3 separate regions of the Homo sapiens genome follow, and regions 2 and 3 are each linked to region 1. Evidence: promoter capture Hi-C in human tissues and cell types (Jung and others, 2019). All regions are on one chromosome and are shown on one strand. Each heading gives the region's core, a stretch centred on a gene start or on the middle of the fragment in contact. The rest is flanking DNA. Distances are from core to core; before and after follow the strand shown.

Region 1 (3,793 bases), core at 621-3,120:
AGCATTTTGGGAGGCCGAGGTGGGTGGATCACTTGAGGTCAGGAGTCTGAGACCAGACTGGCCAACATGCTGAAACCATCTCTACTAAAAAAAAAAAAAATACAAAAATACAAAAATTAGCCAGGCATGGTGGCGCACACTTGTAATCCCAGCTACTAGGGTGGCTGAGGCAGGAGGATGGCTTGAAAACCCAAGAGGTGGAGGTTACAGTGTTTCAGTGAGCCGAGATCCTGCCACTGCACTGGAGCCTGGCAACAGCGAAACTCTGTCTCCCAAAAGATATCACTTACTATTTCCTGTCATACATTTAAGATTAAATTATCCCACCACATTGTTTCCCCAACCAAAGAAAGAATACTGACTCTGTCAAACCTGGGAGTAATCTTTGATGCACTCCTCTCTCTCACCATAGAAGTGGAGTCAGCCAATTCACAGAATGCTTTGCCCAGCTCTTATTTCCTTCCCCTTCAGTATGGCTAAATCATACCATATTTTTGGTCTCAGCTTGCATATCACTCTTTTCTTAGCATTGCCTATTCCAAAGAAAAATAGAGAAAATAATTCTGTCCTCTACTTTACTTACAGACCTTCATCAATTTGTAATACACTTATTTGCTTGGTTACATGACAGCCTCCTCCACTAGTTTACAACCTCCCTAAGAACAGCCCTAGGCTGAATTTTTTTACTATGCCTTAATTAACCATTCAGACACTCATCCATTTACAGGATACACCAATAAATGAAGGATACATTTAAACACGGCACAGAATACAATCAGAACTACCAAAATGTATAACTTTCTGAAAGAACGAGTGACTGCGCAAAAAGACAATATAACGGATAAACAGTGTCTGCTAGTTTTAAAGAGACTAAAAGACATGAAACTTGGATACGTAATAGATCCCAAAACAATCAAAACCATATATTGGAACAAAGTGGAGAACTGTACCTTTTTACACAGGGTACATATTAACAACATTTTAAATTTTCTGGGGTAATAGTATTATGGTTTTAAAAGGACATGTCTTTATCCACAGGACACGTATTACCAAGCATTTAAACCTTAAGTGTCACGCCTGCAATGTTCAACTTACTTCAAAGCCTCCATTCCTTCTTCCTAAAAGCCCGTTTTGAAGCTCTGTGGGGAGGTACAGGCCTAGGAAGTTCAGATAAAAAGAATAGCTGAGTATTCTTGCTTTTCTTCAGTAGAAAGACTTCTGGTCTACAAACGTTTATATTCACATAGAGAAATAACCACACCCCAGATACCTAAAAAATAGCTTTATGTTTCTACCTGAATGTAGAGTGTCAAAAGTAAATACAGGATGCGCAAAGAGAAAAACAAATTCTCAGATAAAACAGGAGGAAGAAGCCCCCGAAACCAACTTTCACCCCAGTACTCACCGCGACGAGCTGGACTCGCCAGGTACGGGAGATTGGGGGGATGAAGGACCAGTCAACCTGATTCGAACGACGAAAACTCGTTGTTTCTGGAAAAAAAAAAGTCACAAAGAATTGCTTTGGAAGAGTTTGAAGCGGCAATCACCGTGTTTGCAAAAATCGTGAGGAAGCGCCCTTACGACAGATCCCGAAACGGCTCCTGGCCCAGGGCCGTCGCAGTGACAACTCGAGTGGCTTTTTGAACCTGGCGGCGCCAGGAGGACCCGCGCGGCCCCGGCGGACGCGAGCGGAGCAGGCAAGGTCTCTCTAAGGAGGCCCCTCGGCGGCCTGGGGCAAACCGGTACTTTCGCCACCCCTTCCACCGCTGGCTCCCACCCGTCATCCGACCTCGCCAAAGCTGTATTAAGCCCAAACGCCACCAGGAAGAAAACGGGTTTGGCGGCGCGGAGAAAGCGCCGGAAAACACAGCAGCGCTCCGTGACGTCACTTCCGCCTCCAGCCTCAAACCTGGAGGAGCGCTCGGGAACTGCAACCTCAGCCGAGCTGAACAACCTCAGGCAGAGAGATTCTGGTTTACTCCCCAGTGGCTACGGAGACGCCTTGGAGGCCTTGGAGTCTGCTCACCTTGAGGGATGGAGGCCAAAAGGGGCCCAGAGCACAAGGCTGAGGTTAGAACCAGCCCTGCGGACGGGGCTAACCTAGGGTGGGGTCGGTGGTGTTGGCAAAGTTAGAGGTGGGGGCTCCCCCACAGGATGTGCACAATGCTCACAAAAAGCTTTTATTCTCACCTCCTCCCACGTTCCTAGCACCCTCAAAATGATGCTTCCTTTGATAATCCTGCCAGTCCATGATATGGCCTATCTCCTCCATTCATTCAATCTAGTTTTAGTTTTTTATTTTGTTTTTGTTTGAGACAGGGTCTCACTGTGTAGTCCAGGCTGGCGTGCTGTGGGGCGAAACTCATGGGCTCACGCCATCATCCCGCCTCAGCCTCCCGAGTAGCTGGGTCTACAGGCGCAGGCCACCATGCCCGGCTAATTTTTTTTCCCCCAGAGTTGAGGTATGTTACCCAGGCTGATCTCAAACTCCTGGGCTCCAACAATCATCCCGCCTCAGCCTCCCAAAAGGCTGGGATTACAGGCGTGCACCACGGCGCCGGGCCCAATTCAACTTGAGGCCAATATTTCCCCTTATTTCATTTATCTGGACGCCATGCTAAATTCTAATAGTTGATTCCTTTGTGTATTCAATATGCTGATACTTTTTGTAAATGTTGATTTTTTTTTCTTTGACTAATATATTGTTTTCTGAGATCTTACAGTGAGTTCCAGGGCCTCGTTGTAAAATACCGCGTTGTAAAATAGCACTGATATCAGGCATTCACTTCTGCAGGAGTGATTCTAGTTTCTCCAGAAATCGTTTTTGCTGTGCTTTGTAGTGGGTGGCCTTTATGGAGTTAATAAAGTTATTTTGAACACTGTTTTACTAACATGAAGAACTGTTCATGTACATTATCAAATATTTTGTGAATCTACTGAACTGGTAACTATTTTGCAGTTAATTTTTCAACTCAAAAAGATTTTCTTTTTTAAGTTTCCTCTCTTGCATTAAGAAGTCTTCATAAACTCTAGATTACATATAGATTTCCTAATTTTCTTCTGCAGCATATTACTTTAAAAACATTGAAATCTTTCATACTCATGGAATGTGTTTCAGTATGTGGTGTGGGATAGTGGATACAATATCTCTTTCCTCCAGAAACACGGCCAATTATTGTAGTACCACATATTGATAAACTGTCCTTGATTTACTGATTTCAAATTCCATGTTTATTAAACTATAAATTCCTATGTATACCTGTATCTGATTCTAGACTCTATGCCAGTAATACATTTACTTATGCCAATATCAAGATCATAATCTTTTCATTCCAGTGGTTTTGTATCAACTAATAATATTCCGTGGTAATAATAATAATAATGGTAGCTTTTTTGTTTGTTTGTTTTTGAGACAGTCTTGCTCTGTCACCCAGGCTGGAATACAGTGGTACGATCTCGGCTCACTGCAACCTCCACCTCCTGAGTTCTAGGGATTCTCCTTTCTCAGTCTCCTGAGTAGCTGGGATTATAGGCACGCGCCACCACGCTCAGCTAATTTTTGTATTTTTTTTTTTTTTTTTTTTTAGTAGAGATGGGGTTTCGCCATGTTGGCCAGGGTGGTCTCAAACTCCTAACCTCAGGTGATCTGCCCACCTCAGCCTCTGAAAGTGCTGGTGTGAGCCACCGCACCTGGCGGTAGCTGTTTTTTAAATCTTACTACCCTAAATGCTTAATAGACATTAAATTTTTACGCTCCCAATGATGTGGCTATTATTGTGATTTTTCCCTTTTG
Region 2 (4,020 bases), core at 1,258-3,757, 190 kb before region 1:
CTGTTGCCCAGGCTGGAGTGCAGTGGTGCAATCTGGGCTCACTGCAACCTCCGCCTCCCAGCTTCAAGCAATTCTCCTGTCTCAGCCTCCTGAGTAGCTGGGATTACAGGCACATGCCACAGTGCCCGGCAAATTTTTGTATTTTTAATAGAGATGGGGTTTCACCATATTGGTCAGGCTGGTCTCGAACTGACCTCAAGTGATACACCCGCCTTGGCCTCCCAAAGTGCTGGGATTACAGGCATGAGCCACTGTGCCTGGCCTGAATATTCCCTCTTGAATAGGTCGTTTTTTCTTTTTTAAAATTTAGTCGAGATGGGGTCTCCCTAGGTGGCCCAGTCTGGTCTCAAACTCCTGGGCTCAAGTGATCCTCCTGCCTTGGCCTCTCCAAAGTGCTGGGTTTACAGGCCTGAGCCACCACACCAGGCCCCCTCTTTAATTTTGCAATTGTATTCTCCCATTCCATAGGATGTCTCTTCACTCTATAGATTGTTTCTTTTGCTGTGTGGGAACTTTTTAGCCTGATGCAATCTCATTTTTCTGTTTTTGCCTTTGTTGCTTGTGTTTTGGGTTCTTATCCAAAAAATCATTGCCCAGTGTAATTTCATGGAGGATTATTCCTATGTTTTCTTTTAGTGGTTTTGCATTTTCAGGTTTACTGAGACCTGAGATGAGGAGCTAATTTCATTCCTCTGCATGTGGTTTTCCAGTTTTCCCAGCACCATTTATGGAAGAGACTGTCCTTTCCCCACTGTGTGTTCTCGGCATCTTTGTCAAAAAATGATTTGCCATAAATTCATTGATTCATTTCTGCACCACCTCTTCTGTTCCATTGTCCTTTGTATCTGTGTTTCTATTGGTACCATGCTCCATTTTCTTAACAGAACATTTTGATAGAGAAAAGTTTTAAAATTTGATGAAGTTCAATATATCTATTTTTTTGTTTTGTTACTCATGCTTTCACTGTTGTATCTAACAATCTGCTTCCAAATAAAGTGTAATCAAGATATTCCTGTATGTTTTTTTCTAAGAGTTTTATGATTTTAGCTACATTATATTTAAGCTATTGACTTTTTATTTATTTATTTATTTTGAGACACAGTCTCTCTCTGTCACCCAGGCTGGAGTGCAGAGGTGTGATCTCGGCTCTCTGCAACCTCTGCCTCCCGGGTTCAAGTGATTCTCCTGCCTCAGCCTCCCAGGTAGCTGGGATTACAGGTGCCCGCCACCACGCCTGGCTAATTTTTGTATTTTTGATGGAGATGGGGTTTCACATGTTAGTCAGGCCGGTCTTGAACTCCTGACCTCAAGTGATCCACCCGCCTCGGCCACCCAAATGCTGGGATTACAGGCATGAGCCATTGCGCCAGGCCTGTTGATCTGTTTTTTATTTGATTTGATTTTTGTACATGGCAGAAAGTAGGGTTCAATCTACTTTCCTTTGCATCGAGTTTGTTCTTGGAAGGGTTTAGTTTGTTGTGCTGTGAAACACCTTATTAATAACATCCACTTGGCAGCAGAATGTGTTAGCCTAGGGTTCAATCTGTCTAAGTGGTGGTTGTCAGAGAGATCATTGGGTTTATAAAAAGGTCACAAAGGCAAGATTATGTTTGACAGAGCCCTGCTCATGAACATTCAGTTCCTCAGCAGACCAGCCTCTTGTCCATGACAGATCAAGGTCTCAGAACTAAGTGGATGTTGTAGGTCCATTAGGCAAATGTGAATTTAAATATCCCGGCTCGACCAGGCTTGGTGGCTCATGCTTGTAATCCCAGCACTTTGGGGGCTGAGGTGGGTGGATCACTTGAGGTCACGAGTTCAAGACCAGCCTGGCCAATGTGGTGAAACCCCATCTCTGCTAAAAATGCAAAATTAGCTGGGTGTGGTGGTGGGTGCCTGTAATCTCAGCTACTTGGGAGACTGAGGCAGGAGAATTGCTTGAATCTGGGAGGTAGAGGTTGCAGTGAGCTGAGATTGCGCCATTGCATTCCAGCCTGGGCGACAGAGTGAGACTTTGTCTCAAAAACAACAACTACAAAACTAAAAGAAAACAAGAAATAAATATCCTGGCTCTTTTTCTCCTGAAAATCACATGCTTCATTTTTACTCTTCCCAAAACACTTGTGATTTGGCTTTTGCTACATGTTTTTACTTTAGGTTCTCTCAGTAACTCCCTTGGTAATTTCCTTCTAACTTTTCCGTTTTATATACAGTCTTTAAAGTTCCATCTTTGGTCCATTTTCTTAGAGCCACTCTTGAGAGTTCTCACGTGTTGTTTGAAACACTTATCATATCGAGTGCTGATATGATGACATGCTTTCCTCAAAAATTACCCATTTGCATGTTAGCACCCTTCACCTAAACTTGGTTGTGTTCTTGTTTCCTCTGGAAGAAATTGGATGAAAATCATACAATAGTCAAGGCAACGTGTTTCCCTTTTAGGATTGTGCTTGTTGCTTTACATGTATGGCTTTATTTAATCCTGAAAACATTTCTTTCTTTTTGTTTTTGTTTTGTTTTGTTTTGAGACACAGTTTCACTCTGTCACCCAGGCTGGAGTGCCATGGCGCTATCTCAGCCCACGGCAACCACCTCCCGGGTTCAAGCAATTCTTGTGTCTCAGCCTCCCAAGTAGCTGGAATTATAAGTGTGCACCACCACACCTGGCTAATTTTTTTTGTATTTTTAGTAGAGATGGGGTTTTGCCATGTTGGCCAGGCTGATCTCAAACTCCTGACCTCAAGTGATCCACCTGCCTCGGCCTCCCAAAGTGCTGGGATTATAGGCATGAGCCACCACAGTTGGCCCTGAAAACATTTCTTTGACATGTCTTTTCTCATTCACCTTGTTCCACAAAGGAAGAAGCAGATAGAGGTGAACTATAACCTGGCAACTTGACGTTGAGACCACACTCCAACTTTGCTATCCTTTATTTCATAAGAACAGTGATGTGATTTTTCACATCAAATTAGGAATGTAGATTTGTAAGCTTGTTTGTTCTGATGATTCATAGTAATGAACTGCCTAGAATAACTGAGACGTTGCTTCCTTCTTTGTGATTATTCCTTTTCTTCCCTCCCTCCCTCCTTTTTTACTTTCTTCCTTTCCTCTTCTTTCTTCCCTCATTCCCTCCTCTTTCTTCCCTCATTCCCTCCTCTTTCTTCTCTCATTCCCTCCTTCCTTCTTGTCTTTCTTTCTTTCCTTCTTTATTTGACCTTTATTTCCCATAATTGCAGTTTTATGATCTAACCCCAGATTGTAGAACATGTAATAATTATACGATAGAAAAGATTTGTTCTCTCATATAGTTTAATTTTCTTCTGAGACTTTCTGGAGATGTCTTCAGGAATGGAAGCCACAGAATGTGGACTGTGTTTGGGATGCAGTTCACCCTTTTGATGAGAACTGGTAGAACTGGGTCTGCAGTGAAGGATGGGGTAGTAGATGGTGTCAGGGTTCATCCCACATCCCTAAGACCCTCCCGCCATCTCCACACACACCATCCTGTCTGCCAATGGTCAGCATCAGCTGAGGGATCCACTTTCCCCAATGCATGGTGGCAGAAAGGTAATGAATGCTTACAATTTTATGTTGCTCTGGCATTTTTTTTTTTTTTTTTGAGCCAGTGTCTCACAGTATTGTGCAGGCTGGAGTACAGTGGCTCACTGAAATCTTGAACTCCTGGGCTCAAGTGATCCTCCTCAGTCTCCCAAGTAGCTGGGACTACAGGCATGCATCATCACACCCAGTTAGGGGGTCTCTCTATGTGACTCAGGCTTGTCTTGAAATCCTGGCCTCAAACCAGGATTGGCCACCTTGGCTTCCTGAAGCACTGGGATTGTAGGTGTGAACCACTGCACCTGGCAGGCATCTATTTTGAATACAGGCTTAGCTTTCTGATGCTAGAGGCAGGGTTCCATTGCCTTTGACACAGTTTCCAATTCCACACCACCCTCAAATGGCTCAAGCTGGTGCAATTGTTGCTCCTTGCATCATCCTTTGAAAGTGCAAGTTGTAAAA
Region 3 (4,010 bases), core at 560-3,059, 220 kb before region 1:
CTGCCCACCTCGGCCTCCCAAAATGCTGGGATTACAGACATGAGCTACTGCACCTGGCCGGATCATTGTTAATTAGGGGAAGTAAGGAAAGGAAAGGGTAAATCTTCTAGGCTGACAGAAGAGAATTCGAGATTGTCCCATGGGTCATTGAGCTTGTAAAGGAAGGGATTTGAGATGCCAGTGAGATGGGGAGCAGGGAATGAAAGCGGGATATGTATTTGATGACTAGAAATAGAACATCCTATATTCTTCCTCCTTGTCCCTTTCACATTGGTCAACTTATATTTAGTTTTAGACAGTGGTTGCGATTGTTTTGTCTCATCATTTAACAAGGATTTACGTGGTGCCCAGCACATTACTGATTCTGAGCAAGTACAAATTGAAATGTTCTATAAAGACTGGGACCAAAGCATCAACTATAACACAAAATAGAAATCTTCAAGTTTAAGACATGTTTGAATATAGACATAAATTTAATAATACAGTAAATAACATATTCATATCTCTTTTAAAATAATGATAAATGAAGTAGTAATACCAGCTCTAACAATGGAAGCAGGTTTAATGTAAGAATGTCTGCATAATTCATCACAAAAACAGGTCAGTAAAGAGAAATCATAAACAAAATCACAATAGAAAAAATGCATTTGAAAAAGATTATCAACCAGGGCAGATCCTCTCAATAAAGGAAGAAACCAAGGACAATTGCTTAACCCGATAAACAATGGTTGTTTTAATACCACAGGCAACAAGATATGCTATGTTAAAACAGTAAGGGGTTTAAATTCCTGGATACACCAAAGGCCGTCTACTACAATTTCAATCTTTTGATATTTTGGTGAACATGCAAATGGATTTTTTTTTGGGGGGGACATGGTGTCACTTTGTCACCTGGGCTGGAGTGCGGGGTGCAGTCTCAGCTTACTGCAACCTCTGCCTCCTGGGTTCAAGCAATTATCCCATCTCAGTCTCCCGAGTAACTGGGATTGCAGGTGTAAGCTAAGGTGTCAGGCTTTCTTTTTTTGTTATTGTTTAGTAGAGACAGGGTTTTGCCATGTTAGCCAGGCTGGTCTCAGGGTCCTGGCCTCAAGTGATCTGCCCGCCTCGGCCTCCCAAAGTGCTGGGATTATAGATGTGAGCCACTACGTTCAGCCAAGGGATTTTTAATATGAGAAAAAAAATTGGACTGCATGTTGAATGTCAGAAATAATTGTATTATTTCTATATGATATCATGGATACTAAGTTGAAATAGCAAAAACATAACAGCTAGTAAGTGCTGTAAATAAGTCACCATCTCCACCACATCAACCCTACCCCCAATCCCCAGACCACTCTGGGTCTGGTAACCAATAATCTGCCAGGAAAAATATAGAATATAATAGAAAAATCCAATCACATTAGGAACACATAGACAATACCTTGAGCATAGTAGATCTTCCGTGAGTAGTTAATGAATAAGTAACTGGATGTACGAAATTCAACAGGAGACTAAAGTTTATAGGAAAGAGTGCAGGAGAGTTAGAGACTGTTCGGAAAATAACTTATTAAAGACGGGCCCTGGATTCCAAGGAGTGAGAACAGAAGGTGGGAGACACTGGTTTCTGTGAAAACTAAAGTACCATCAAAGTACAGGGACTTCACCTTCATAGACTCAATAAGTATGGGACTTTCCAGGCTCATTACTGTGAAGGCTAGTACTTATTCTCTCTCCTCTTTTCCTTCTTACCCCACCAGCCCTCACTGGGTCACACTAACTCTGATGGTTATCACTGAAGTTTTCTCTTCTACACGATCTGTTCCTAGGAAGCCGTACTGGGTTTTTTCCAAAGGCTGGGAGCAGAGAATTACAGGTGAGGTTGTTTAAACAGGGGCACATTTTAAGTTTCCAGTGTCTCAAGAGTTGAATTCTCAGAGCACCTTATTAAATAAATTGTTCTATTTTCTTCCCACTCTCCAAAGAGTTTGGCTCCCTTTGAGTAGTAAGAAGATGATAGAATGGAAATTTTTCAGTTAATTTTGTGATGAAATAGGCAGTGGTAGGGCATGATGGATTTATTTCCCCCAAGAAGAAATTCTTTCTTCGGTTTAATTTGAAAGTCACAAGTTTTGCCCTAAGGAAAGATTAATTTCTGCAAGGAACTAAACTCAGGAATCATCTCCAAGCGATGTGACTCCCTTGAAGAGTCTTTGGAGATTTTATGGATCCCTCGGTGTTGAAAATTCATGGAAACAAAAATGTCTTTTCTTTTTAAATATTTTTTCAAATTATTTTTATATATTTTTTTAAATTATAGAATTATATGTATGTATCATGTACAACTTGATATTTGGAAATATATATACATTGTGGACATTCAATGTATCTAATTAACATACGCATTATCTCACAGAGTCGTTATCCTGGTGAGAACACTTAATATCCACTCTCTTAGCATTTTCAAAGAATATCATATATATCATCATTAACTAAAGTCATCCTGCTGTACAATAGATCTCTTGAACTTACTTCTCTTATATAGCTGTAATTTTGTATTCTTTTACTAACATCTCCACAACACCAACACTACTCCTCAACCCCAAACCACTCTGGGTCTGGTAACCAACATTCTACTTCTTTGAAATCTGGATTCTATTTCTCTGAGATCACCTTCGTTAGATTCCACATATGAGTGAGATCATGTGATATTTGTCTTTCTGTGCCTCCCTTATTTCACTTAACACAATGTTCTCTGAGTTCATCCATGTTGCAAATGACAGGATTTCCTTGTGTTTTATGGATGAATCATATTCCATTGTGTATATATACTACATTTTCTTTATCCATTCATTTATTTGCAGACAACTAGGTTGATTCTGTGTCTTGGCTACTGTGAATAATGCTCCAATAAACATGGGAGTGCGATATCCCTTCCACACACTGACTTCGTTTCTTATTGATATATACCCAGTAGTGGACTGCTGGATCATATGGTAGTTCTATTTTTAAGTTTTTGAGGAACCTCCATACTCTTTTCCATAATGGTTGTACTAATTTACATTCCTACCAACAGTGTAGAAGGGTTTCCATTTCTTCATATCCTGGCCAGCACTTACTATCTTTTGTCTTTTTAGTAATAGCCATTTGAGATGAAGTGAGGTGATATCTCATTGTGGTTTTCATTTGCATTTCCCTGATGATTAGTGAAGTTAAACCTTTTAAAAATGTATGTTGGGCCGGGCGCAGTGGCTCACGCCTGTAATCCCAGCACTTTGGGAGGCCTAGACGGGCGGATCACAGGGTCAGGCGATCGAGACCATCCTGGCTAAAGGTGAAACCCCGTCCCTACTAAAAATACAAAAAATTAGCCGGGCGTGGTGGCGGGCGCCTGTAGTCCCAGCTACTTGGGAGGCTGAGGCAGGAGAATGACTTCAACCCGGGAGGGGGAGCTTGCAGTGAGCCGAGATCGCGCCACTGCACTCCAGCCTGGGTGACAGAGCGAGACTCGTCTCAAGAAAAAAAAAATGTATGTTGTCCATCTGTGTGTCTTCTTTTGACAAATGTCTTTCAGGTCTTTTGCCCTTTTTTTTTTTTTTTTTTTTTTTTTTTTGAGACGGAGTCTCGCTCTGTCACCCAGGCTGGAATGCAGTGGCGCGATCTCCGCTCGCTGCAAGCTCCGCCTCCCGGGTTTACGCCATTCTCCTGCCTCAGCCTCCCGAGTAGCTGGGATTACAGGCGCCTGCCACGACGCCCGGCTACTTTTTTGTATTTTTAGTAGAGACGGGGTTATCACCGTGTTAGCCAGGGTGGTCTCGATCTCCTGACCCCGTGATCCGCTCTCCTCTGCCTCTCAAAGTGCTGGGATTACAGGCGTGAGCCACCGCGCCAGGCTGTCTTTTGCCCATTTTAAAATTGGGTCGTTTTCTTCCTACTGAGTTGTTTGAGCTTCTTACGTATTTTGGATATTAGCCCCATATCACATGTCTAGTTTGCAAATATTTTCCTCCATTCTGTAGTTTGTCTCTTCACTC

What was found. Contacts are between HindIII fragments. The study calls those that stand out against the background at their distance.
Region 2: a fragment that was not itself captured here is called in contact with the fragment with the promoter of ZNF266 in region 1 in 5 of the 25 tissues and cell types used here (H1 embryonic stem cells, liver, lymphoblastoid cells and 2 more).
Region 3: the fragment with the promoter of OR7D4 here is called in contact with the fragment with the promoter of ZNF266 in region 1 in 3 of the 25 tissues and cell types used here (heart left ventricle, mesendoderm cells and thymus).

The regions. Positions count from the first base shown.
Region 1 is chr19:9,433,703-9,437,495 of GRCh38, forward strand. ZNF266 (zinc finger protein 266) reads right to left here and starts at 1,871. Exons shown (of 11, transcript NM_001370374.1): 1 at 1,582-1,871; 2 at 1,406-1,491; 3 at 1,096-1,157; 4 at 373-533; 5 at 1-84. It overlaps LOC105372269 (a long non-coding RNA gene), which reads left to right and starts at 1,939. Exons shown (of 3, transcript XR_007067133.1): 1 at 1,939-2,070. RefSeq lists an enhancer at 1,662-1,791. The HindIII fragment of the contact is 27,667 bases long and covers 1-3,793 here.
Region 2 is chr19:9,239,743-9,243,762 of GRCh38, forward strand. It overlaps a transcript of OR7E24 not described here. Among named protein-coding and RNA genes, the nearest start is that of OR7E24, 9.2 kb to the right of the region's middle. The HindIII fragment of the contact is 9,125 bases long and covers 1-4,020 here.
Region 3 is chr19:9,217,780-9,221,789 of GRCh38, forward strand. It overlaps OR7D4 (olfactory receptor family 7 subfamily D member 4), which reads right to left and starts at 1,810. Exons shown (of 2, transcript NM_001005191.3): 1 at 1,421-1,810. It also overlaps a transcript of OR7E24 not described here. The HindIII fragment of the contact is 21,358 bases long and covers 1-3,223 here.